Linked DNA regions of Homo sapiens: all the other regions are linked to region 3. The links are contacts of gene promoters, found by promoter capture Hi-C in blood cells and fetal thymus (Javierre and others, 2016). All regions are on one chromosome and are shown on one strand. Each heading gives the region's core, a stretch centred on a gene start or on the middle of the fragment in contact. The rest is flanking DNA. Distances are from core to core; before and after follow the strand shown. Region 1 overlaps PI4KA (phosphatidylinositol 4-kinase alpha). Region 2 overlaps CRKL (CRK like proto-oncogene, adaptor protein). Region 3 holds the start of CCDC116 (coiled-coil domain containing 116). Region 4 overlaps SNAP29 (synaptosome associated protein 29). Region 5 holds the start of THAP7-AS1 (THAP7 antisense RNA 1). Region 6 overlaps CRKL (CRK like proto-oncogene, adaptor protein). Region 7 holds the start of LZTR1 (leucine zipper like post translational regulator 1).

Region 1 (3,174 bases), core at 475-2,974, 780 kb before region 3:
GATCATGGTGATGGATGGACAACTCTGTGAATACACTAAATATGATGAACTGTACATTTTAAATGGGTAAATTTTGTGGTATGTGAATTATATCTCAAGAAAGCACTATTGAAAAACCTAGCCTATGAAGGATCAAATCAAACCACAAGCAACTGCCGACCAGAACAAAGCCCAACATTCCCTAAAGTAACACAACAAAAATCTAAACACTCAAGCCAGGCACGGTGGCTCGCCTGTTAACACCAGCACTTTGGGAGGCCAAGGCAGGTGGATCACTTGAGGCCAGGAGTTCAAGACTAGCCTGGAACCCCGTCTCTACTAAAATACAAAAAATTAGCTGACTGTGGTGGCGCATGCTAAAGGAGTCCCCATAGGTCTCTGGGACTATAAATACTCATTTAAAAAAAAATTTTTTTTTTTGAGACGGTGTCTTGCTCTGTCACCCAGGCTGGAGTGCAGTGGCGTGATCTCAGCTCACTGCAAGCTCCGCCTCCCAGGTTCATGCCATTCTCCTGCCTCAGCCTCCCCAGTAGCTGGGACTACAGGCCACCACGCCCAGCTAATTTTTTGTATTTTTAGTAGAGACGGGGTTTCACCGTGTTAGCCAGGATGGTCTGGATTTCCTGACCTCGTGATCCGCCCGCCTCGGCCTCCCAAAGTGCTGGGATTACAGGTGTGAGCCACCGCGCCCGGCCTACTAAAATTTTTTAAAATTTTCGCTGGGTACAGTGACTCAAGCCTATAATCTCAGCACTTTGAGAGGCTGAGGTGAGTGGATCACTTGAGCCCACGGTTTGAGCTAAGCCTGGGCAAGATAGTAAGACCCCATCTCTAAAAAAATTTTTCTTTTTTTACTTAGCCAGGTACAATGTGCGTGCCTGTAGTCCCAACTACTTGGGAGGCTGAGGCAGGAGGATCCCTCAAACCAAGGAATTCAAGGTGGTAGTAAGTTATGATCATGCCACTGCACTCCAGCCTGAGTGAAAAAGCAAAACTGTCTCCAAAAAAATGTAATTTCTATTTTTAAAAATGTCTAGGCCAGGCACAGTGGCTCATGCCTATAATCCCAGCACTTTGCGAGGCCGAAGTGGGCAGACGGCTTGAGCCCTGGAATTTGAGACCAGCTTGGGCAACACAGTGAGACCCTATCTATTTTTTTTTTAATGTCTATTTATCCACCCCTCTAATACCAGGGCCTAGCACAGTGCCTGCAACACAGCAAACCCCCAAAGATTTATCATATGAACGGATGGTGCCATCTTTTGCTTTCATAATAGTATAGCCTTGGGTTTTTTTTGTTGTTGTTGTTGTTTTTTGTGTGACGGAGTCTTGCTCTGTCGCCCAGGCTGGAGTGCCGTGGTGCAATCTCAGCTCACCACACCACCTCCCGGGTTCAAGCAATTCTCCTGTCTTAGCCTCCCAAGTAGCTGGGCTTACAGGCGCACACCACCACGCCCTGCTAATTTTTGTATTTTTAGTAGAGACAGGGTTGCACCATGTTGGCCAGGCTGGTCTCGAACTCCTGACCTCAGGTGATGTGCCTGCCTCAGCCTCCCAAAGTGCTGGGATTACAGGCGTGAGCCACTGTGCCCGGCTGCGTTGGTTATCCTGAATCCAGGCTTCCAGATAAGCTTTAAACACAGAAAAACATTCAGGAAAAGAGAATGGCTTCTGCAGCAGAGACAGAGCCTCTCAGGACTCAATAAACAAATGCAAGTGAGACCTGAGGATTTCTGCCTCAACTCTGTATTTATTTGTCAGTTTACCACACAAATGAAAGTAGCGTTCTGGCCAACTTGGCAATGTTCATGAAAGGCCAAGCTTTTCTCCAGCATGCCAACATATACAACAAAAGCAAATACAAAAATAAAAATATAAATAAGCCATCCTGGCTAACACAGTGAAACCCTGTCTCTACTAAAAATACAAAAAATTAGCCGGGCGTGGTGGCGGGCGCCTGTAGTCCCAGCTACTCGGGAGGCTGAAGCAGGAGAATGGCATGAACCCAGGAGGCAGAGCTTGCAGTGAGCAGAGATCACGCCACTGCACTCCAGCCTGGGTGACAGAGCAAGACTCCATCTCAAAAAGTAAATAAATAAATAAACAAATAAGCAATCAGGAAGATAAAATGCATAAATTTCAGCAACTGACGTCAATGATGGAAATAGCTGCTGGTGGGAAAGATTAGAGGCAACCACACCTCCAATGAGTGCAAACTGCAAACACAGACAGCAGAAAAGAGAATCTGCAGTAAGGAGTGAGAAATAGAACATTTCTGCCCCCTGGGGAGACAAACAGCTGGTGACACAGGAGGGCACTGAGGGAAGGCTACGTGAAGGCAGAGGGAGAAAGTGGCCTCGGAAGAAATCAACATTGCTGACACCTTCATCTTGAACTTCTAACTTCCAGAATGAGGAGGAAATATATCTGTGTTGTTTAAGCCAGTCTGTGGTACTTTGTTATGGCAGCCTAGCAAACTAATAGTTAATATGGCATGGTTACAGGTAAAGATTTTTTCTTCTTCCAATTTCTTCTTAAAATATTTTCTAGTTGATTTAATAACAATGATTCTGGCACCGCGTATACCCTCCGCTGACCCTCATTATCTCTCTCCTCTCGCTCTACGGATGGCTCTTCTTAACATAGCCTCACAAAGCAAAGGGAAAGAGGATAGGAAATTCTTGGCTTCATGATACTGGAAAAACGCCAACACTATGATTTTTACTCCATGGCAGACCACTCTAAAGTACAGACTGAATAACCATGAACTCCAGAAAGCCCACTACCCTAAGCACCAAGCCACATATTCTCCCAACTACAGATTAGAATTAACTCATCTTATGGAGCACATATGTCCACCAAGGAGGGTTCAGCCTGTCCCTAATGCCGCAGTGCCATTTAAACATCAGATCGGGCTGGGTGCAGCAGCTCACACCTGTAATCCCAGCACTTTGGGCGGCCAAGAAAAGAGAATCACTTGAGCCCAGAAATCTGAGACCAGCCTGGGCAAAATGGTGAGACTCCGTCTCTATTTTCTTTCAAAAACCAGATCAATAGTTAGCTACGACACCTCAGGATTCTGGCATTCTAACTGAAGAAAACAAAGAGAACATTTTAGGACATGGAAAAAGGGCTCTGATCAAAGCCTCCTGAGGGTGGGGAGAGGAATAGAAG
Region 2 (3,138 bases), core at 234-2,733, 710 kb before region 3:
CCTGGGAGTGTGTTTCTTAAAGGAGAAAGGGGGACATATAAAATGAGTTTGGAGATAAAGATCAGGGTCAGGAATTGGGTTTTTATTTAAAGTGCTGTGGGCTCCAAGGAAGGAATTTGAGGCAGAGGAGTGACCTGGGGCTGTTATTGTAATCCAGCTACAAAATGATGGTGACTAATAGTGACAGTGGAGCTGTGACTTGGAGATGCCTATTTTGGAGATAAAATTGATTTGCTGGTGGGTGGGGATGAAGGGAAAGGGAAGAAGGGATGATTTGGTCTATTTGTAACTTTGTTATCTTCTGTGTTTTTATCTTTAACTGCTTTTTGTATTTGTGGTATTCCTATGGTGGATTTTATTTTATTTATTTTTTTGAGACCAAGTCTCCCTCTGTCCCCCAGGCTGTAGTGAAGTGGCATAATCTGGGCTCACTGCCACCTCCGCCTCTGGGGTTTAAGATTCTCCTGCCTCAGCCTCCCTAGTAGCTGGGATTACAGGCATGCACTGCCACACCTGGCTAATTTTTGTATTTTTGGTAGAGACAGGGTTTCACCATGTTGGCCAGGCTGGTCTTGAACTCTTGACCTCAAGTGATCCACCTGCCTGGGCCTCCCAAAGTGCTGGGATTACAGGTGTGAGCCACTGCGCCTGGCCTAGCTCTAGTGTATTTTTATTTAATAAGGGCTGTTTCCAGTTTAACAACAGAATGCTTCAGAAGGTAGCTTGCTTTGTTTGACATTTTCCATTTCTAGCTTGTGTCGATAGATAAATTCAGGCTATGAAGAAAAATTAGAATAAATAAAATTTTACCATTAAAAACTAAAGGAAGTTGGCCCTTCAAGAAAATAATGTACTGTACTCAGCAGACTTTGAGCATTACATGTACCTGGTAATATGGAACCAACATTGAATCAGACAGCCCTATCATGCTTCTGAGGAGCTTACTGGTTACTAAAAAAAAAATTTTTTTTTTTTTGAGACGGAGTCTTGTTCTGTCGCCCAGGCTGGAGTGCAGTGGCGGGATCTTGGCTCACTGCAAGCTCCGCCTCCTGGGTTCACGCCATTCTCCTGCCTCAGCCTCTTGAGTTAGCTGGGACTACAGGTGCCCGCCACCATGCCCGGGTAACTTTTTGTATTTTTAGTAGAGACGGGGTTTCACCGTGTTAGCCAGGATGGTCTCGATCTCCTGACCTCGTGAACCGCCCGCCTGGGCCTCCCAAAGTGCTGGGATTACAGTTATGAGCCACCGCGCCTGGCATTTTTTTTTTTTTTTTTGAGACAGAGTCTTGCTCTGTTGCCAGGCTGGAGTGTGGTGGTGCAATCTTGGCTCACTGCAACCTCCACCTCCTAGGTTCAAGTGATTCTCCTGCCTCAGCCTCCCAAGTAGCTGGGACTACAGGCGCACGCGCTACCACACCTGGCTAATTTGTGTATTTTTAGTAGAGATGGGGTTTCACCATGTTGAGCAGGATGGTTTTCTGTCTCTTGACCTCAGGGGATCTGCTCGCCTCGGCCTCCCAAAGTGCTGGGATTACAGGCGTAAGTCACCGCGCCTGGCTACTAAAAAAAAAAAAAATGTAAAGGTTGGCTGTGCTCGGTGGCTCGTGCCTGTAATCCCAGCACTTCGGGAGGTTAAGGCAGGAGGATCGCTAGATCCCAGGAGTTTGAGACCAGCCCTGGCAAGATAGTGAGACCCCATTCCCACAAAAAATTAAAAAATTAGCTGAGCATGGTGTCATGCGCCTTTAAGTCCCAGCTACTTGGGAGGCTGAAGTGGAAAGATTGCTTGAGCATGGGAGGTCGAGGCTACAGTGAGCTATGATCATGCCACTGCACTTCAGCCTGGGCAACAGAGCCAGACCTTGTCTCAAAAAATGAATGAATGAATGAATGTAAGTTGTATATATTTAATATATTTAATCTCCATGCATGGTGAAACAGCTGTGGGAGAACTGAGAAAGGGTGCTTAGTCTAACCTGAGAGCCCAGAAGAGGAGCCTCACACACCTGTGAAGTAGAAGCCAATCCCTGAAGGGACAGGAGGAAACAAGAAGCATGGTTGTGCCTCCTCTTTACATCCCCTGTTCTAATTATTTAAGAACTCAAATCTAGACTTCCATAATTTGGAATGGGGAAAGGATTGCCAGTAATTTTAATCAGCATAGAATTCAACTCTGTGAATAAACCCCTTTGCGTTTCTCCTGACCAGTAGTTAAAATCATGTGAATTTGATTCAGAGAAAAATACAAGAACATGGCCAGGTGCAGTGGCTCACGCCTGTAATCCCAGCACTTTGGGAGGCCAAGGTGGGTGGATTGCCTGAGTGCAGGAGTTTGAGACCAGCCTGGGCAACACGGTGAAACCCTGTCTCTACTAAAATACAAAAAATTAGCTGGGCATGGCGGCGTGTGCCTAAGAGGCTAAAGGCAGGAGAATCACTTGAACCTGGGGGGTGGAAGTTAAAGTGAGTCGAGGTCGTGCAGCTGGACTCCATCCTGGGCGACAGAGTGAGACTCTCTCCAAAAAAACAAAAAACAAGAACACTGTCATGCTGAGAATGGAATCTTGTCCAATTAAGAGTTGTGTTCCCAGCCGGATGTGGTGGCTCACGCCTGTAATCCCAGCACTGTGGGAGGCTTAGGCGGGCGGATCATGAGGTCAGGAGATCAAGACCATCCTGGCCAACATAGTGAAACCCCGTCTCTACTAAAAATACAAAAACTAGCTGGGCGTGGTGGCATGCATCTGTAGTCCCAGCTACTCCGGAGGTTGAGACAGGAGAATCGCTTGAACCTGGGAGGCAGAGGTTGCACTGAGCCAAGATCACACCACTGCACTCCAGCCTGCCAACAGAGCGAGACTCCGTCTCAAAAAAAAAAAAAAAAAAAGAGTTGTGTTCCCATGGAAAGTACTAGTAGCCATTCGATTTGTGACTTTTAAAACTCAAATCCACAGAATTGTGACCTAAATTTTTCCTTTTGATCTGAATGATTAGACTAGATTTCTGAGGGTCTTTAAGATTAAAATATTTTAATTCTGGGCCGGGCGTGGTGGCTCACGACTGTAATCCCAGCACTTTGGGAGGTCTGGCAGGTCGGGAGTTCGAGACTGAACCTGGGAGGCAGAGATGACAGTGAGC
Region 3 (3,359 bases), core at 57-2,556:
CTCAACCAACCACCGTTCTCCACTGGAAGCTGATCTTGGAAAGGTCAGAGGTCCCGAGGGTCTGCAGGTGGGAAGGAGGAGACTGACATTTATTGAGCACCTACTTGGTGCCAGACACTGAAAGTATTAGAGATTAAGGGTGACTTGCCTCTGTTCTGGCCCCAAAGAAGCACCATCTGATAGAAAAATAAGTAGCAACATGGTATGGTAGAGTCTGGAATGGGGTTTACTGTGAATTGCGTAGGGCGTGGCAGAATTCACAGTAAAAGGTTTTTGGAAGAAGTGACACCATGGTGGGGTATTACTGAGCAAAGGGGAAAAGGAGGGAGGGAGAGGAGGTAAGAATATACAAGGCTCCGCTGGGCGCGGTGGCTCAGGTCTGTAATCCCAGCACTTTGGGAGGCCAAGGCAGGCGGATCACAAGATCAGGGAATCGAGACCATCCTAGCTAACACGGTGAAACCCCATCTCTACTAAAACTACAAAAAAATTAGCCGGGCGTGGTGGCGGGCCCCTGTAATCCCAGCTGCTCGGGAGGCTGAGGCAGGAGAATGGCGTGAACACGGGAGGCGGAGCTTGCAGTCAGCCGAGATTGCGCCACTGCACTCCAGCCTGGGCGACTGAGCGAGACTCCCGTCTCCAAATAAATAAATTAATTAATTAAAGAATACACAAGGCTCCACTGGGTTACTGGGTGTGCTGTAGGGAGATTTTATTGAATCCCATACTCCCATATTGGAAGAACACTCAAGCCCATTTACAGTGTGGGACTAATGCTGAGAGGTTGAGTCACATTGGCAGGAAAGAGCAGAGCCAGGAACTGAAGCTAGGTCTGTGACTTAGAGCCGGCACTCTTTCCACTGCAGAGGGGAGAGGTCTCAAGGCAGAACCTGGGGCTGTGCACACCGCGGGAAGGGCAGAGGCCCCTGGAAACGAACAGGAGCAGGAGGCCCAGGGCTGCGCAGCAACCAAGGAGGACACGAGGAAGGTGCTTGTGCCACCGGTGGAAGACGTGGCTTTGGCTTTTAGGCTCCCCTCGGGGCAGGAGCAGATCAAAGAGCCTAGCCCCAGCTTCGGTGGTGGGTGGGGGGTCCTCCCGGCAGCGGGGAGCGTGGGCACCAGCATCCTCAGCCTGCGGCTCCCAGGCGAGTGTGGGAGGGCAGAGCCCAGAGAATTGGAGGTGGGGCCAATGTGGGCCCCGCCCCCAACCATTGTGTCGGAGAGGGAAGTGGACGAGCTCCTCGGTAAGAACCAATGAGGATGTGGTATGCAAATAAGCAAGTGGAGGCCGCCAGCCGACTTCCTCGCACTGTGCAGCTGCTCCAGTGAGGGCGCAGACTGTACTGGCCTGTGCGGAGCAAGGCGGTGTTTCTGGTGAGTCTGTTGATTCTGGGCTGGGGTGAAAGCCAGGTTGCCCAGGGTTTGGGAGGAGGGCGGGTCGAGCACACGCAGATCCAAAGATGATCGGAGACAGGATTGTCCTCAGCGATTCCACCCCGATGACTCTGGAAACTGCCTGCCTGCAGACGCATGGGGGCCATGGAGCAGAGGAAGGGCTGGATGCATGAAGGAGGCGGGGTGCGGGGAGCGAGGGACCCGCAGACTCCAGGGCCACAGATGCGTGGACCTATTGGAGACCCTCAGGTTGTCTCCCCACCCCACGCAGAGAGGAATGCGCAGCTGAAGAGAGAGGTGGGCAGCAGGCCCGGTCACCTGCCAGGTGACCACATGGCCAGGTGCCGCCACCACTCGGGTTACCTGGCCGATGACGAGGCCAGCCACTCCATGTGCAGTGCACGGGTAAGTGTGCCCAGCAGGGCGCCGACCCTTGAGGCCACAACATGTTCCCCACCAACCCTGGCACCCAAGACCACAACCCCCATTTCTCATTGTCTATTGACTTCTCTGGGCCTCTTAGTGAAGTCCTTATTGCCTTGACTTCTCCTATGTCCCCCACTGCTTGCCCCTGTCACACTCAATTTCATTCCTTGTTTCCTCCTGACTTCCAGCGACCCAGAAGGTGCTTGGGTGGACTGGGACCCTAGAGTGGGAGCATGGAGTTGACTAGGTGCCTATGGCTCAAGTTGGAGAAACAGGCCCGGGTAGCACAGGGCTCAAGACCTCAGGTGTTGTCTGCACTCAAGACCTCAGATGTTGTTTGCAGCCCTGCCATGGATACAGGGATGGCCTGCTGCATGGACAGATGAGGAGCTGGAGGGAGACTCCGAGAGATTCATGATTGCTCATCCTGCCACGTGTCAGGGCAGAAGCAGGCTTGCAGACTCCTTAGCCAGGACTTGTGTGTGTGAAATGTAGGTGTTAGGAAAGCTTCGGGGTGACCCTGAATAGACCTCCACTTTGCAGATGAGGACATTGGACCTCAAGAGGGGCCATCTTGCACACTGGCATCAGGCTGTAGGTGGCAGAGCCAGGGTCCAAACCCAGGGCTTCCAGACTCCAAAATGCAGCTCCTTCCACTACTCACTCCCACCCAGGTCCTAGTGTTACCCCAGGGAACCCTTCACCTGTAGGGCACCCCTGCCCCCTGTGACATACCTGTCTGCTCAGGTGCAGCTGCCCAAGAAGCCACTGGTCCCAGAAATGCGGCCAGCCTGCAAGCCGGGCCGTGTGCCACACCCACCATCCACATGTGGCAGCTCAGCACTCCAGGGCCAACGCCGAAACAAGAGGCACCCTCAGCCCTTTGGCCACTTTCTGGATTTCCTAACTGAGAGCCAGGTCCTGGACAGCCTGGAGACAGTGGTGGAGAAGGCGACTGAGCGCATGGCTGCCATGAAGACGGAGGCTGGGGTGCCGCTTGTGGAGGTGCAGGACCCAGTGGAGGTGCCAAGTGGTGGACGGCGGGCACATGCCCGGCCCAGCCTCAGCACCGTACACCGGCACCGTGTACGGCCGACCCTCTGCACTGGACACCCCAACAACTACCCATCCAGCTCCAGCTCCATGTCCAACTGCCATAGCAGCCTCATGGCCGGCTGTCTGGGCTCCCACAGCCGGGACAGTGACCTAGGTGCCCAAGGCTCATTGCCACCTGTGAGGGACAAACTCCTGCTGGAGAAGAACCTCAAGCGGCTGCTACAGCTGGAGAGGGAAGGGGTGAGAGCCAGGGCCATGGCTGGGTGGGGTGGACTCCCATGGAGAGCCCAGGGCTAGGGTCAGCCCTGGCTTGGCTGCTCCTGAACACTTCACAGAGTCACCCTCTTTCTGCAGAAAGGCCTCAGTCAGTCCTGCTCCCAGAGGGACTCCCTGCTGTGGGATTCGCTGGGTAGCCAGACCAGCTTTCAGTGGACACAGGAGCAGCCCTTGTCCTGGTTCTCAGGGCTGCTGGGCTCAAGCTC
Region 4 (3,222 bases), core at 599-3,098, 750 kb before region 3:
TTGTATCTGGGAGGCGGAGGTTGCAGTGAGCTGAGATCACGCCACTGCACTATAGCCTGGGCAACAAGAGTGAAACTCTGTCTCAAAAAAGAAAATGAGCGTGCCCATCATTGGTTCCTGCCTGTGTCATTCTCAATTGTTCCAGCAGTAAAAAGCCAACTGCAGAAAAACCCCTTGGTAAATAGAATACTGGCCCCTCAAAGCTGTCCACGTCCTAATCCCCAGACCCCGTGAGTGTGTTAGGTTATATGGCAAAGGTGGAATTACAGTTGCAGATGGAGTTACAATTGCTAATCAGCAAGATGGGGAGATTATCCTGGGTTGTCCAGTTGGGTCCAGTGTCATCACAAAGGTCCCTTTTAAGTGGAAAGAGAAGCAGGAGAGAGAGCAGCAGAGTCAGAGATCTGAAGATGCTGCTGGCCTTGAAGATAGAGAAAGGGGCCCACCTGCCAAGGTACACGGGTGAACTGTAGAAACTGCAAAAGGCGAGGAATTAGATTCTTCCCAAGAGCTCCAGAAGGAGTGCAACCCTGAGGACACCCCGACTCAGCCCAGTGAGACCCATGTTGGACTTCTGACCTCCAGAACCGTAAGACAAGTTTGTGGTCATTTGTCACAGCATCAGTGAGGGACTAATACAGCCTCCAGCCCAAGCAGAAGGAGCAGCAGCCACATGGACAAGGTGTGCAAGACAGTGTTGATCGAATCATTCCACTTCTATCAAGTGATAGGCCCAGAAACATCCCTTATCTGGAAAGGAATTTAGGGCTCCTGGGGCCTCCTCCATAGGCCCCCACAATAGCCAGGTACATTGAAATTGGTGCTAGAAACCAAAGGCTTACTGTGCTGCCTTCAAGAAAACGATACACCATGGAAGCTCTGGAACCCACCATGGTTGTGGTTGATGCAGCTGAGGAGAGCCCAGATGGAGGAAGAGCGGGGAGCAGGAGAGACTAACATCATCAGCACAGTTCATTCTGGAAAGGCAAGTGGAGGAAGTGAGTGTAAATTGAAAGGCAAGGGCTGGGAAAACCGGCCTCATCACACCCTGGAGAAGGGGCACAGGACACTGCACCCAAGACACAATTTTAAGGAATTAAAGAGAGTTTTTATTTGTGCAGTATATATTAACTTAAAAGACTGAAGAAAAAATCGACACAGTTTGCAGAATGGTTTCAGTTGGTTGGTGCTGGAGGAAATGTGCTAAGTCTAGAAAGTGAAGTTTCCCTGAAAGAGATAAACCGGGATGACAGGGCTTTTCCGTGTGCGTTTAGAAACTGAAGTTCATTCAAGCCAAGAAAGATAATTTTAAAAAAGAAGAAACTAAAAGTTCAAGGAAGATTTCTTGTGGCAAATGTGCATTATTTAACATTTCTTTTTTTTTTTTTTGCGTATTTGTTTCAAGTGCAAAGATAGTGTAGAAATAAATTTCAGAAAGAAACGAAATTACCCATAATTCCATTTATGTAACGTAACAATTTGTATTTTTATACTTTGTCCACAGACTGTGTAGTTTTGCATTATTGCAGTTCCACTTCTGTATTGTCACTTGTGTGACTCTGTCTTTCCTGAGCTTGTGCACCAGGAGTTAGGTGACCCTTAATTTGAGGGTGTTTGATCTCCCAAGTACTGAGGGAAAGTGAGAACCCTCTCCTACCCCGTGGAAGCGTCTCTTCTTCTGGCCCATGAGCCTGCGCTGTGCTCCTCCCTCATCCCTCTGGATAGCCTCAGAACCAACCCCTTCGTTCCTTCCACCCATTTTCCAGATGAAATTGTTTTGGGTGTGTGAAGCAGCATTTGAAGGAATGTCAATTAACCGCTCTCCTGGTGTTTCCTTCTAAACTTAGACCCTGTCCCCAGAGGGGCTGGTTCTGCCATGAGTACTGATGCTTACCCAAAGAACCCACACCTTCGAGCCTATCACCAGAAGATCGACAGCAACCTAGGTAAGACTGAGCACCACACCAGCTTCTGTAAGCCACTGTCCTTCAGGCAGCTTACGCCAAGCATAGCCCCTGCATGAGCATCCTCCAGCTTCAGTTCCCTCACCACACATCACATCCCACGCCAAGCTGGGTCCATCTTGCCACCTCACTGTCTCTGGAATCTCTCCACTTCTCACCATTTCCTACTTCTAGCCCAGCCGAGCCCTCCCCACCTCTCACTTTCATGAACAGCACCAGGGACCCAGGAGTCCCTGAGAGGCCATAAAGTATAGCCTGGACGTGACCGCTCACTTCATCCTTCCCACCTGGCCACTCAGAGCCCTGTTTTCCTCCTTGTGAAATGGGCTACCTCTGAGAACAGTGGAAAGGTTACCTGAGCCAGAAAGTGCCTGGGATGGTAAGAGTTAGTGCTCGTGTTGCAATTGGCACTTTGGCCACACAGCCTCCAGCATGATGTTTCAAAACGGAAGGGTGTGCAGGGGGCCGGGCGCAGTGGCTCACGCCTGCAATCCCAGCACTTTGGGAGGCCAAGGCGGGTGGATCACCCGAGGTCAGGAGTTCAAGACCAGCCTGACCAACATGGTGAAACCCTGTCTCTACTAAAAATACAAAAATTAGCCGGGCGTGGTGGCAGGCGCCTGTAATCCCAGCTATCGGGTGGCTGAGGCAGGAGAATCACTTGAACCCGGGAGGCAGAGGTTGCAGTGAGCCAAGATCGCACCATTGCACTCCAACCTGGGCAACAAGAGCGAAACTCCACCTAAAAAAAAAAAAAAAGAAGAAGTGAAGGGTATATTCTTCCAGAACTCTCTCATGGAACCCCACACACTCACAGTGCAGTCCAGGCTCTCTTTGGCTGCCCTAGTCCCTTCTGCCCTCATCACCTGCAGGCTCGTGTGGGATTTCTGATGTGAGTTCTTTCTGCCTCGTGGCCCCTATCTGCCTGGATGGGCTCCCCCGACTCTCTGTAGGCTGGCTCCTTCTCTTTCTGTCAGTCTTGCATTAGTATGGCCTCCTCTCCCTGTCTCTCAGGACCCTTGTGTTTCCAGGGGGCTGCCCTGGCCGTTTGTGATTGTGTATCTGCTGGTTTGCCTGCTGTCTTCCCAATCAGACTGTAGATTCCAGGACAGCATGGGAGTGTTTCCATTTTGTCACTACTTTGTATCTGGGGCCCAGCAGGCAAGCACTTAGTGATTATGTTTTGTTTTGTTTTGTTTTGTTTTGAGACAGAGTTTTGCTTTTGTTGCCCAGGCTGCAGTGCAATGGTGCAATCTCA
Region 5 (3,443 bases), core at 430-2,929, 630 kb before region 3:
TGCTTCATCTGCCTGGGCACCCAAGGGGCCCAGTAGGTCTGAAAAGGGGCTGCTAAGGCCAGGCTCCAGCCTCCCAGCTGGGGAGGCCGGCAAAGTGGCAGGTGCTGAGGCCTCTTCCACAGGAAAGCAGGTGACATCAGCAGGTGGAGGTGGAGAAAATGGAGTTGTGGGCCCTCGGCCCTCGGAGCAGCTGGTAAGGGGGAAGAGAGAGACTGATGGGCTAGGCTGAGGGCTTGCCAGACCCCCCTCCACCAGCCCACCTGATCCACCCTTAACACCCAAACCCGATCCACAGGTTCTGTGTAGCAAGAACCCTGTCCAGCGAGACTGCTGGCAGACACCCCTAGGGCCCAGTCCCTCAGCCTAGGGGTGGGAGTGGGGCATCCCCCACCCATATCACATACCGCTTCCTGCATCGTCTGAGCCGGCTGACTTCAGCGGGGCCAGGTGGGTAACTGTGTCCTTTGGTCTTGGTTGTCCGGCGCAACTTGGAGAAAGACTCAAATATGGTGGGGACTGCCCCCTCCTTTAGCCTGTGATATCCACTGCGGGGAAAAGCAACCCAGATGAGCTGGAGAGCAAGTGCTGCCTCCCCAGGCCAATCTGCCCCCAGCAGCAGCGCCGTGGGATGCTGGAAGGCATCGTGCAAACAATACGTCTGGGGAACGCCAAGTTACAGCTACACCAATCGCTTCCCCGCAGGACTCCTCACAGTCCAGGTGTGTGGAAAGCCTGCATAAGCCGAGCTGGGCTGACCAGCCAGAAAGAATTCTTTGATTTGTGGACTTGCTGGCAAGACTGGGGCTCTGAAAGATACTCTCTGGAAAGGCTCCTGTTTTCCCCTTGTGTCACAGGCACAGTGATCCTGGGGGTGGGTTTCACTGTGCAGAGCTGGGAACAGGAAACAGCCCCCTTGGACGCAGGCTGCTCAAGGGACTTCCATGACCTGCAGCTGTCCCAGTCCGCCGGGAGCCCCACATCCTACCCCAGCGTCGGCCGGCAGGGAGGCCCACCTGATTCCCACCAGCTCAAAGCAGTCCTCCTCAAAGTGTTTGGAGCAGAAGTAGATGTACTCGGATGCCGGGTCCCACAGGCCCTGGCCGCTGGGGTCCAGCCGCTGGCAGTTGGCCAGCCACAAGCCTCGCCTCGGGTTGTCCTTCTTGGGAAGTCTGTGGAGCCACAAACCCGTGAGCACCAGGCTGTCCACAGCCCTGGGCTCATGCTGCCCAAGCACCCCAGAGGGGAAACGCAGACCCAACACGCGCCGCCACGAGACCTCCCTGCGACCCCGCCGGGTAAGCACCACCGCCCGGGCACAGACGAGGCAACGGAGGCCTCGAGAAGAAAAGCAGTTTCCTCAGCGTCATCTGGCAGGTAACAGAGTGGGGCGGGTCCAAGCCGGCTAGACTTCCCGTCCTCCCCTTCCCGACTGCATTCAGTCCCGCCGGGACCGTTCCGCTTCACCTCCCACCCACAGGTTCAAGCCTCCTCAGTATCTGAGAAAGGCGCGAAGCCTCTACGCAGTTGCGACCCGAGGCGAGCAACAACTAGCGCATGCGCACGTGAGCCCGCGGCGCACGCGCGCTGACCTGTGGAAGGAGATGCCGCGGTTGCGCGTCTCGCGCGTGTCCCGTGTGCAGCAGCCGGCGGCGGAGCAGTGACGCGGCATCTGGGAAAGAGGCGGGAGTTAAGTCGCAAGCGGCTCTCCGGGCATCCGGAGGAGCCTCGCGCCTCCAGCCGCCGCTCCTCCCCAAGGGGCTCTGGCCTGTCGGGTCCCCCCCGGCCCGTTGTCGCCCCAACCCCGTCCCAGCCGATTCTCTTGACTTCTGTCAGCGGCACTCACGCTCTGGCCATTGCTGCGCCGCCGAAGTCTCGCGAGGGGTAGCGCGCGCCGGAAGTTGGTACCATAGAGACTGGAGAGCCGGAGGTGCCCCCGCCACCGGGGCGGGGCGGGGCGAGGTCCTAGCTAGCTGGGTTAGTAAGCGGCGCGAGCGTGCGAGTTTCTGACGCGCCCGCGTCGTCCCAGCTCCCTGGACTACCAGTATTGTCGCCCACGTGGGCTTCTCTTTCGTCCGCTCAGGCCTCACTTTTCTCCGTAAACACCCCGGCACGATGGAGCGGCCCCAGCGTTCGGGAGCGGCCCGGGAGCGGAAAGCGGCAGTGTCCTGGGAGCCTCGAAAGCCGCAGGGGCGGCAGCTCGCCTCGGAATGACCTCTGACGGAAGAAATAAAACGGGGCCTGGGACGCTTGCACGAAAGAACCCGACAAAAACCAGAGCCCGCACTCACTCTCGTACTGGGGAGGTGGACTTCAGGGAGGGTTATCTGGAGGAGGAATCTCTCAAAGTACAACACAGGAGAAAGACAGTATCGCAATACAGAAATTTTATTTTTTATTTTATTATTATTTTCCTGAGACCGGAGTCTCGCTCTGTCGCCCAGGCTGGAGTGCAGTGGCGCGATCTCGGCTCACTGCAAACTCCGCCTCCCGGGTTCACGCCATTCGGCTGCCTCACCCTCCACAGTAGCTGGGACTACAAGCGCCCGCCACCACGCCCGGCTAATTTGCAATACGGAAATTTTAATAGGTAATTAGCTCTCCTAGCGTTATGGTGGGGAATACAGAGGGATGGTTGCCTGCCGCACCCTCCCCTCACTATTCTTCGCCTTCTTCAGCCTCAGCTTCCACGGAATCCATGCCCACATCTTCATAATCCTCCAGAGCTGCCAGATCCTCGCGGGCCTCGGAGAATTCCCCCACTGCCATGCCCTCCCCCACGTACCAGTGCACTAAGGCGCACTTGGCCGAACTTATGGTCCAGGCAGGCCCAGGCCTCCGTGATGGCCGTGGTGTTGCTCAGCATGCACACCGCCCGCTGCACTTTGGCCAGGTCTCCCACAGGGACCACCGTGGGGGGCTGGTAGTTAATGCCCACCTGTCAGAGATGGGCAGCATAGAATGAAGTTTATATTGGCCTCAGAAATGGGAGCTCATTAAAAATCAGAGCTGTGGACCAGTTCCAACACTGTGTTTTAAGAATTGCTTCTATATTTTTTGGCATTATCTGTTATCTATCGACAATTAATATCCTTTGACGACTTTTTTTTTTCTTTTCTTCTCCTTCTTCCTCCTTCTCCTCCTTCTTTGTTGTTGTTGTTGAGACAGGGTCTAGCTCTGTTGCCCAGGCTGGAGTGCAGTGGTGCAATCTCGGCTCACTGCAACCTTTGTCTCCCAGGTTCAAGCAATTCTCCTACCTCAGCGTCCTGAGTAGCTGGGATTATGGGCATGTAAGATGGAGCCCGGAAGACGGAGATTTCAGTGAGCTGAGATTTCGCCACTGCACTCCAGCCTGGGCTACAGAGCGAGACTCTGTCTCAGAAAAAAAAAAAAATTATTACCCATATTACCCATACAGTAAAACACATGAAAAAGAATGAGAACCC
Region 6 (3,452 bases), core at 173-2,672, 680 kb before region 3:
TTCCATGGAGTAGATGTTCAGTAAATTTATTTAATTGATTAGGTAGGATCATGTAGAAAGTATCCTGTTGAAGACCGCCAGACTCACAAGTTAATTGGAAGGCGTGAGGTGTGAGTGTTCTTGGCAGCTTTCAATCCTTAGCCTCATCTTTAATCTTCCCGTAGTCTTCTTTGGCTGCTTAGTATCCATCACAGTCATTTATTAGACCCCGTTTTCAGCCTGTTCCTCATTGGTTTTGAGAGGACCCTTGTTGGTGACAAGGTTGGAAATCCTCTGATATATACAGTGTTGTGCTTCTCAGTGCTAATTCCAGCTCTTCCCTTCGTGCATCCAAAGGGTATGATCATTAGAGGGGGCGTGGGGTTGGGGGATGGGTTCTATTCAGGAATCTCTACTCAAGTAACAATCATTTAATTACTGCAAGAACCTTTCAAAGTTGGAAGGAAACTGAGACTTGGAGAACTTAAGCAGTTTGCTACAGTCATGTAGTTTCTAAAAGTGGCAGAACCAGGACATTTGTTTGGTGTCCTGCATGCTCCAAAGTTCATGGCACGGACCATTGGACTGTGCCATAAAAACCTTATGCCTGTTTTTATTTTGAGATGTAGTCTTGCTGCGTTGCGCCGGCTGGTCTCAAACTCCTGGGCTCAAGCAGTCCTCCCACCTCAGTCTGCCAAGGACCTGGAACTAGAGGCATGTACCACGATGCCTGGTTCTATATGTGTTTAAGCAGACAAAAGCTTATTTCTTATTGTCTTAGATCTTAGGTGGGTCTTATATTCAAGTAGCGTTTTTATGGACCTAAGTACACAATACAGAACCTTAGATTAGTGCTCTGCTGAACAGAGTAACACCCTGTCTACAATGACTACCACCTGAAGGTCTTTTTTTAAAATACACCTTTTTGTGTAATTTGACTTTAACCATTCTCAGAATCATGTGTTCATTTCTATCCTGTTGGGGTTAGTGGCCAAAATAGAAGGTTGGTGTGGGGTGGGGAGCTGCTTTGTGCTCAAAAGCTGTTTCTGTGTGTGTGTGTGTTTTGATTTTTGTTTTTTTGAGACAGGGTCTCACTCGGTTGCCCAGTCTGGGGTGCCGTGGCACTATCACGGCTCACTGCAGCCTCAGCCTCATGGGCTCAAGCCATCCTCTCACTTCAGCCTCCTGAGTAGTTGGGACTGCAGTCATGTACCACCACACCCGGCTAATTTTTCTATTTTTTAGAAGAGATGAGGTTTCACCATGTTGCCCAGGCTGGTCTCGAACTCCTGACCTCAAGTAATCCCAGGAGTTCAAGGTTACAATGAGCTGTAATCGGGCCACTGCATTCCAGCCTGGGCGACAGACCCCGTCTATAAAAAATTAAAAAATAATGTGCATGGTGGTGCACGCCTGTAGTCACAGCTATTCAAGAGGTGGAGGTGGAAGGATCACTTGAGCCCAGGCGTTAGAGGTTACATTGAGCAGGGATCTCACCACTACACTCCAGCATGGCTAACAGAGTGAGACCCTGTGTCTAAATAATAATGTATGGGCCCTTTGGATAAGGTAGTGTTTGTGATTTAATGTAAACTGTCTTTTTCTTGTTGCAGAGAAATGCTAACTTTGTCTTCTTCATCCATACAGGTTGGTGACATCGTGAAAGTCACAAGGATGAATATAAATGGCCAGTGGGAAGGCGAAGTGAACGGGCGCAAAGGGCTTTTCCCCTTTACGCACGTCAAAATCTTTGACCCTCAAAACCCAGATGAAAACGAGTGATTGCTGTTGCCCTGTTTCCTGCTGCTTTGTTGTTCTGCCTGTCCTAGTCTCCTTTGAAGTGGGAAAGCATTTTCTCTCATAGGCAAGTCACACTGCATTGCCGAAGTCCAGCTTTCTGCAGACTGGCAGTCGCACACACATTTGGAATGCACACAGCGGCTGCCTCCTGATGTTTGTATCATAGTCGTATTGTCAAAGAGTAGCCGATTTTAGAGTTCTTTTGGATCATAAACTGGAAATACTGATGGAAGCACACAAGTGGAGAGAAGTTGACATGGAAAGGGTCTTCCTTCTCATTGCTGCCCGTTTGTACATGGGACTGATTCTGTTGTGTTCACCAGAGAAAGCTTGAGGCCATGGCGAGATACTGCATGTTTGCTGTTCCACAAAGCAGTGGCTTAGCTGCCATCTTGCTTTTCTTTGGACAACAGGAAGTGAACCTTAAGGAAGAGAGAATTCTGTTCTAAAACTCCAAAATCTGGCTTTTTTTTTTCTTTTGTTTTGGTTTGGTTTTGGAAAACTAATTAATTAGACTTGTGTGGGGGTTTTTTTTTGTTTTGTTTTGTTTGTTTTGTTTTGTTTTTTTGAGACGGTGTCTCGCTGCATCACCCAGGCTGGAGTGCAGTGGCGCAATCTCGCCTTCCTGCAGTCTCCGCCTCCTGAGTTCAAGCGATTCTCCTGCCTCAGCCTCCCAAGTAGCTGGGACTGCAGGCGCGCACACCACGCCCAGCTAATTTTTGTATTTTTAGTAGAGACGGGGTTTCATCATGTTGACCAGGCTGGTCTCAAACTCCTGACTTCAGGTGATCCACCCGCCTTCAGCCTCCCAACGTGCTGGGATTACAGCCGTGAGCCGCCGCGCCTGGCCTAGACTTGTGTGTTCTAAACAGGTTAAGTAGCAGGTTGGGTTTTTATGATAGTGCAAGGAATGACTCATGCCTCTGAGCTTCTAAACTGAAGCTGCTGTAACTAAAGGAATCTGAAAAGAACAACCCTGAAGCAGAGGCCTTTATTGTCTTGGTTGCCAGTAGTACCTTGTTTTGCCATGTAGCAGACAACACACAAAATAATGCAGTTGTGGTGTGCCATGCTATGTGCACAGCCCCTTGGATTACTTTGTTTTAAAAAGCATCAGAGTTGGGGGTACTTTAGGGAAACCTTTGCTTACCTTGTTTTGCCAGTGATAAGAGCAGTGGGTTGGAGGGCACTTGGCCAGTTTTCTGTTCAGCTTTTCAGTGAATGTACCCCTTTAAGGTTCAGACTTAAACTTCCTTAAAAAGTGGCGTTGTTCATAGAATCGTTGGACTCATTAATGAATCGTTCAACTCCACTCACTGAAGCCCAGACCTCCGTGCCCAGGCCCAATCTCGTCAGGCTGCCAGAGAAAGTTGGTGCTGCTCATACTGGTCTCACAGTCTAAGTAAGTGTCTGTGATGCTCCCAAGCAAAGGAAATGCAAGCTCTGGAAATTCGTTAATGTATTTGATGTCTTAGTGTTTTAGTGACTAGGGAGACCATTAACTAGTTTATCATTAACCACTTATCAGTGTATTGATGTTAAAGCATTTCCCTGTTAGCTAAAAGAGGCCTGTTCATACAAGCCAACTGGTATATACGTGTGGTTCATCCATCATCTGCTGCACATAGCAGACTAGAATTCTGGGAACCCTGTGCAATTCAGTCTGCTCTCCC
Region 7 (3,253 bases), core at 754-3,253, 650 kb before region 3:
TAAAAGGACGTATGGAGCAGGGCCTGGGCGGGGTTAGGAGGGGATCCTGTGACGTCTCGTTCCCTCCCCCGGCTCACGTGGGTGCCACCCACCTGCCCGGCCCACAGGCTACGGAGAAGGCTTCGACGACGTCATCATCCAGGGGGATCTGGAGGAGCTGAAGTTTGTGGCTTTTTACACTAAGTGAGAGCACCGGGGTGCAGCTTGGCGCGAAGCAGCGGGAGCTCAGTCGGGAAGGGGGATTCATCCCAGGCAAAATCCCAGAACAAGAGCCCAGCCCTGAGCCCCGCTGAGGAGTGCTGGAGCTTCCTTAGGAAAGCCCGAAGCTTGTGCACGGTCAAGCCGCGATGTGCAAAGCAGGGAGGGCTGGGTGCTCAGGCCATTCTTGTTGCCCTGGGGTAGGTCCTTCCCTGGGCCCCAGATGGACAGCAGTGCATCAGGGTTTTCAAAAAGGGGCTGCTGCCTCGCAGTCCTCAGGCTTGGCCATCCTCTCCTTGCAGAGGCGACGAGGTGATCGCCGTGGCCAGCATGAACTACGATCCCATTGTGTCCAAGGTCGCTGAGGTGCTGGCCTCAGGCCGTGCCATCCGGAAGCGGGAGGTGGAGTGAGTGTGGGTGTGGGAAGCCTGGGGGTGGGAGTAGTTCCCTGGAGTACTGGCTAAGGTGCCTATGACAGCCAGCCGCCCCCACAACCCTCCAGGGCCTTTCCCCTCTTGGTTTGCATCGCCTGAGGCTTACAGGACTACAGGGAGGTGTGGGGCAAGGATCATGGTTTGAGAGCAGGCTGGTTATGTGTTCATGGTGGATGGAAGGGATAGAGATGTGTGTCACCAGGCAGGGCCAGTGCTGTGGGAAGGGGTCAGGGCCCAATGCATGGGCAATCACCAGGCGTGGGACACCTAACTGGACATAGTTGTGCTGAGCCTGGCAGAAGCTAGGTGGGAAATGCAGCTACTGATGCCCTGGGTATGCCCTCCACATAGATGGTGGGGGTGGTTCTAGGTTTCACTCAACACCAGCCAGTTCCCTTATCCTGGTGTGGTGTCAATGAGATTCACCCTCTGGGAGAGAGCTCCCAGGGACTGGGGACAGCCTGGAGGCCACTGGGAGGCTATGAGACAGGGGCAGGCTTCAGGCTGGAAACAATGGAGGACCAGAAGGGGACATGATAAATGACATGCTCTCTCCTTGGCCTTCTCTCCGTTTCTCTCTCTTGCCTTCGTGAAGGCTGTTTGTGCTGCACAGCAAGTACGTGTGTCCTTCATGTTGACCGTTCTGAGCCTTTCCCATGTCAGCCCAGACCCTCCACCCAATGGTCTTATCTCCCTCTGTCCAAGTACACCTCCCTGCTGGGCACTAGGGTCTGGCACAGAACAGACCCCCTGCTGTCCTCAAGGGCCAGCTGTTCAGGGTGCCCAGAGTGGAGAGCCTGTTTTCTTCTGTCTTGACCCCTCCTCCCCTCACTCCTGCAGGACTGGCGACATGTCCTGGCTTACGGGGAAAGGATCCTGAGCTCACATGCAGTAGACTTGGGCAGGCAAAGGGGGCACCAAGGGCACAGGCCAAGCCTTGGGGGCAGGTGCCAATCTCCAGTCCCAGGATCCCCCAGGGCAGAACCTGAGCCCTCCCAGTGCTTGCCTTCAGCCACCTGGCTCCCCTCCTGGGAGGCCTCTGCTGGATCCAGAAGATGCTCAACCCTCAAGGCCTCTGCTGCCACTGACAGCTGGCACTGGAGGCAGGACAAGCCCTGCCTCTTCTCCCTCTATTGGGACTGGTCCCCTGAAGAACCCTGCAACACGTTAAACATTACCGTAAAATTAAAACGCACAAATTTGCAGATCTGTATGACTCCCAGTGTAATTGGGCCAATAGGCACAGGACCAGACCACAGGGAAACAGGCACAATCACAGAATGCCAGGTGCCACACCAAGGAAATTTGGCCTGTGAACGCCCAGAGGAGGTAGCAACTAATTCTGCGCCCCAAGCCCTCCCACATCCCTCTCCCCCTCTGCGATCAGCGAACGCTTTTTGCTTTTGGCTCTGAGTTTTGAAGGAAGGGTATTCCAGGTAGAAGGGACAACATGCCCAAAGGTCTTGAGATAGTAAATGCTCCTTCAGAGGTGGCTCATGCTTGACACTTTGGGGCATTTGCCCACTTAGGGCTGTGGGAGCTGTGTCCTGAGACAGACCCCATGCTTTTCATAGCCGGAGCATTCTCAATCCCCATGTCGGAGGTGAAGGAGCTGAGGCCCTGCTAAGTAGGAATGAGAATCCAGAGGCTCCTCGCCGGGCTGCCTCTCAGTCAGTAAGAAAGCCAAGGGGAGAGGGGAGTTGCTGGGGGTCAGGGCTGAGGGCGCTAGCAGGAAAGGGAGCGTTGAGCCGCCTGCAGAGGCCGCTGCGAGCCCGGAACCCTCCATGGGGGATCCCGGCAGCGGCAGACGATCCAGGCCGGAGCCACGCGCAGACCCAGGGCATGCCGGGAACTGCGAGCCGGCCGCGGGTCTTCGGGCTGCGTGGGCCTGGGAGGCGCCGGGAAGAGCAGTCGCGACGGGGCTAGGGACGACACACTGCATTCACTGGAAGGGACAACGCAGCGCCAGTACATAGCCTGAAACGCTCCCCAGAAGGTCCCACGCTCGCCGCGCGGTCGACAACCGCATCCTGCGCTCGCCCGCGGTGTCTCGGCAAGCGGTAGGCTTGTCGGGAAGAGCTGGAGGGCGCAAGTGCGGCGCTGGCCGGACGTGCCGCACCGTCAGCGCAGGGCTCGCCGGGAAATGTGGTTTCTCCAGCCGGCCCGGGGCGGTGGCCGCAAGTTGGGCTTACAGCGCGGCCGATCCGGCGTGGACCCGGGATGGCTGGACCGGGCAGCACGGGGGGGCAGATCGGGGCTGCGGCCCTGGCAGGCGGCGCGCGGTCCAAGGTAGCCCCGAGCGTGGACTTCGACCATAGCTGCTCGGACAGTGTCGAGTACCTGACGCTCAACTTCGGGCCCTTCGAAACAGTGCATCGCTGGCGGCGCCTCCCGCCCTGCGACGAGTTCGTGGGTGCCCGGTACGGTGGGCTTCATGGGGTCCTGAGGACAGGAAGGGCGATCTGCGAGGGTCCCAGGGCGGGTCCAGGGGCGAAGCCGGGGGGTGGTGTCCTGGGGTAGGATCTGGTAATGAGGTGGATGGTGCTGTACAGGACGCTGTTCAGGGCAGGGGAGAGGGTTCCGAGGGAGTCCCAGAGCCCGATGTCCCGGGACAGGGTACT

What was found. Contacts are between HindIII fragments. The CHiCAGO score rates a contact against its expected background, and 5 or more counts as called.
Region 1: a contact is called between a fragment that was not itself captured here and the fragment with the promoter of CCDC116 in region 3, in 2 of 17 cell types (naive CD8 T cells and naive B cells). The highest score is 5.7, in naive CD8 T cells.
Region 2: a contact is called between a fragment that was not itself captured here and the fragment with the promoter of CCDC116 in region 3, in 3 of 17 cell types (naive CD8 T cells, naive B cells and total CD4 T cells). The highest score is 8.4, in naive CD8 T cells.
Region 4: a fragment that was not itself captured here is called in contact with the fragment with the promoter of CCDC116 in region 3 in 1 of 17 cell types (neutrophils); the score reaches 8.0 in neutrophils.
Region 5: a contact is called between the fragment with the promoter of THAP7-AS1 here and the fragment with the promoter of CCDC116 in region 3, in 2 of 17 cell types (endothelial precursors and M2 macrophages). The highest score is 8.3, in endothelial precursors.
Region 6: a fragment that was not itself captured here is called in contact with the fragment with the promoter of CCDC116 in region 3 in 2 of 17 cell types (naive CD8 T cells and endothelial precursors); the score reaches 5.5 in naive CD8 T cells.
Region 7: a contact is called between a fragment that was not itself captured here and the fragment with the promoter of CCDC116 in region 3, in 3 of 17 cell types (non-activated CD4 T cells, naive CD4 T cells and activated CD4 T cells). The highest score is 7.3, in non-activated CD4 T cells.

What each region holds. Positions count from the first base shown.
Region 1 is chr22:20,850,042-20,853,215 of GRCh38, forward strand. All of the region lies in intron 1 of PI4KA (phosphatidylinositol 4-kinase alpha), which reads right to left. Among named protein-coding and RNA genes, the nearest start is that of PI4KA, 7.2 kb to the right of the region's middle. The HindIII fragment of the contact is 190 bases long and covers 1,630-1,819 here.
Region 2 is chr22:20,922,319-20,925,456 of GRCh38, forward strand. The region is part of intron 1 of CRKL (CRK like proto-oncogene, adaptor protein); the gene reads left to right. Among named protein-coding and RNA genes, the nearest start is that of CRKL, 6.5 kb to the left of the region's middle. RefSeq lists an enhancer at 2,313-2,960. The HindIII fragment of the contact is 4,315 bases long and covers 1-3,138 here.
Region 3 is chr22:21,631,454-21,634,812 of GRCh38, forward strand. CCDC116 (coiled-coil domain containing 116) reads left to right here and starts at 1,307. Exons shown (of 5, transcript NM_152612.3): 1 at 1,307-1,374; 2 at 1,667-1,800; 3 at 2,569-3,117; 4 at 3,232-3,359. The coding sequence starts at 1,729. RefSeq lists an enhancer at 1,039-1,538. The HindIII fragment of the contact is 2,744 bases long and covers 1-2,326 here.
Region 4 is chr22:20,881,624-20,884,845 of GRCh38, forward strand. SNAP29 (synaptosome associated protein 29) reads left to right here. Exons shown (of 5, transcript NM_004782.4): 4 at 1,848-1,946. Among named protein-coding and RNA genes, the nearest start is that of SNAP29, 24 kb to the left of the region's middle. The HindIII fragment of the contact is 5,220 bases long and covers 1-3,222 here.
Region 5 is chr22:21,000,243-21,003,685 of GRCh38, forward strand. THAP7-AS1 (THAP7 antisense RNA 1) reads left to right here and starts at 1,680. Exons shown (of 2, transcript NR_027051.1): 1 at 1,680-2,587. THAP7 (THAP domain containing 7) reads right to left here and starts at 1,876. Exons shown (of 4, transcript NM_030573.3): 1 at 1,590-1,876; 2 at 1,014-1,169; 3 at 405-545; 4 at 1-190. The coding sequence starts at 1,669. RefSeq lists an enhancer at 730-939 and silencers at 1,540-1,709, 1,730-1,839, 2,481-2,871. The HindIII fragment of the contact is 5,606 bases long and covers 1-3,443 here.
Region 6 is chr22:20,948,085-20,951,536 of GRCh38, forward strand. It overlaps CRKL (CRK like proto-oncogene, adaptor protein), which reads left to right. Exons shown (of 3, transcript NM_005207.4): 3 at 1,627-3,452. The coding sequence ends at 1,761. Among named protein-coding and RNA genes, the nearest start is that of LINC01637, 7.3 kb to the right of the region's middle. RefSeq lists an enhancer at 3,435-3,452. The HindIII fragment of the contact is 1,368 bases long and covers 739-2,106 here.
Region 7 is chr22:20,979,520-20,982,772 of GRCh38, forward strand. AIFM3 (AIF family member 3) reads left to right here. Exons shown (of 21, transcript NM_001386814.1): 18 at 108-183; 19 at 501-605; 20 at 1,228-1,248; 21 at 1,473-1,839. The coding sequence ends at 1,512. LZTR1 (leucine zipper like post translational regulator 1) reads left to right here and starts at 2,778. Exons shown (of 21, transcript NM_006767.4): 1 at 2,778-3,052. The coding sequence starts at 2,853. RefSeq lists enhancers at 1-175, 2,226-2,305, 2,356-2,455 and a silencer at 2,846-2,975. The HindIII fragment of the contact is 3,358 bases long and covers 325-3,253 here.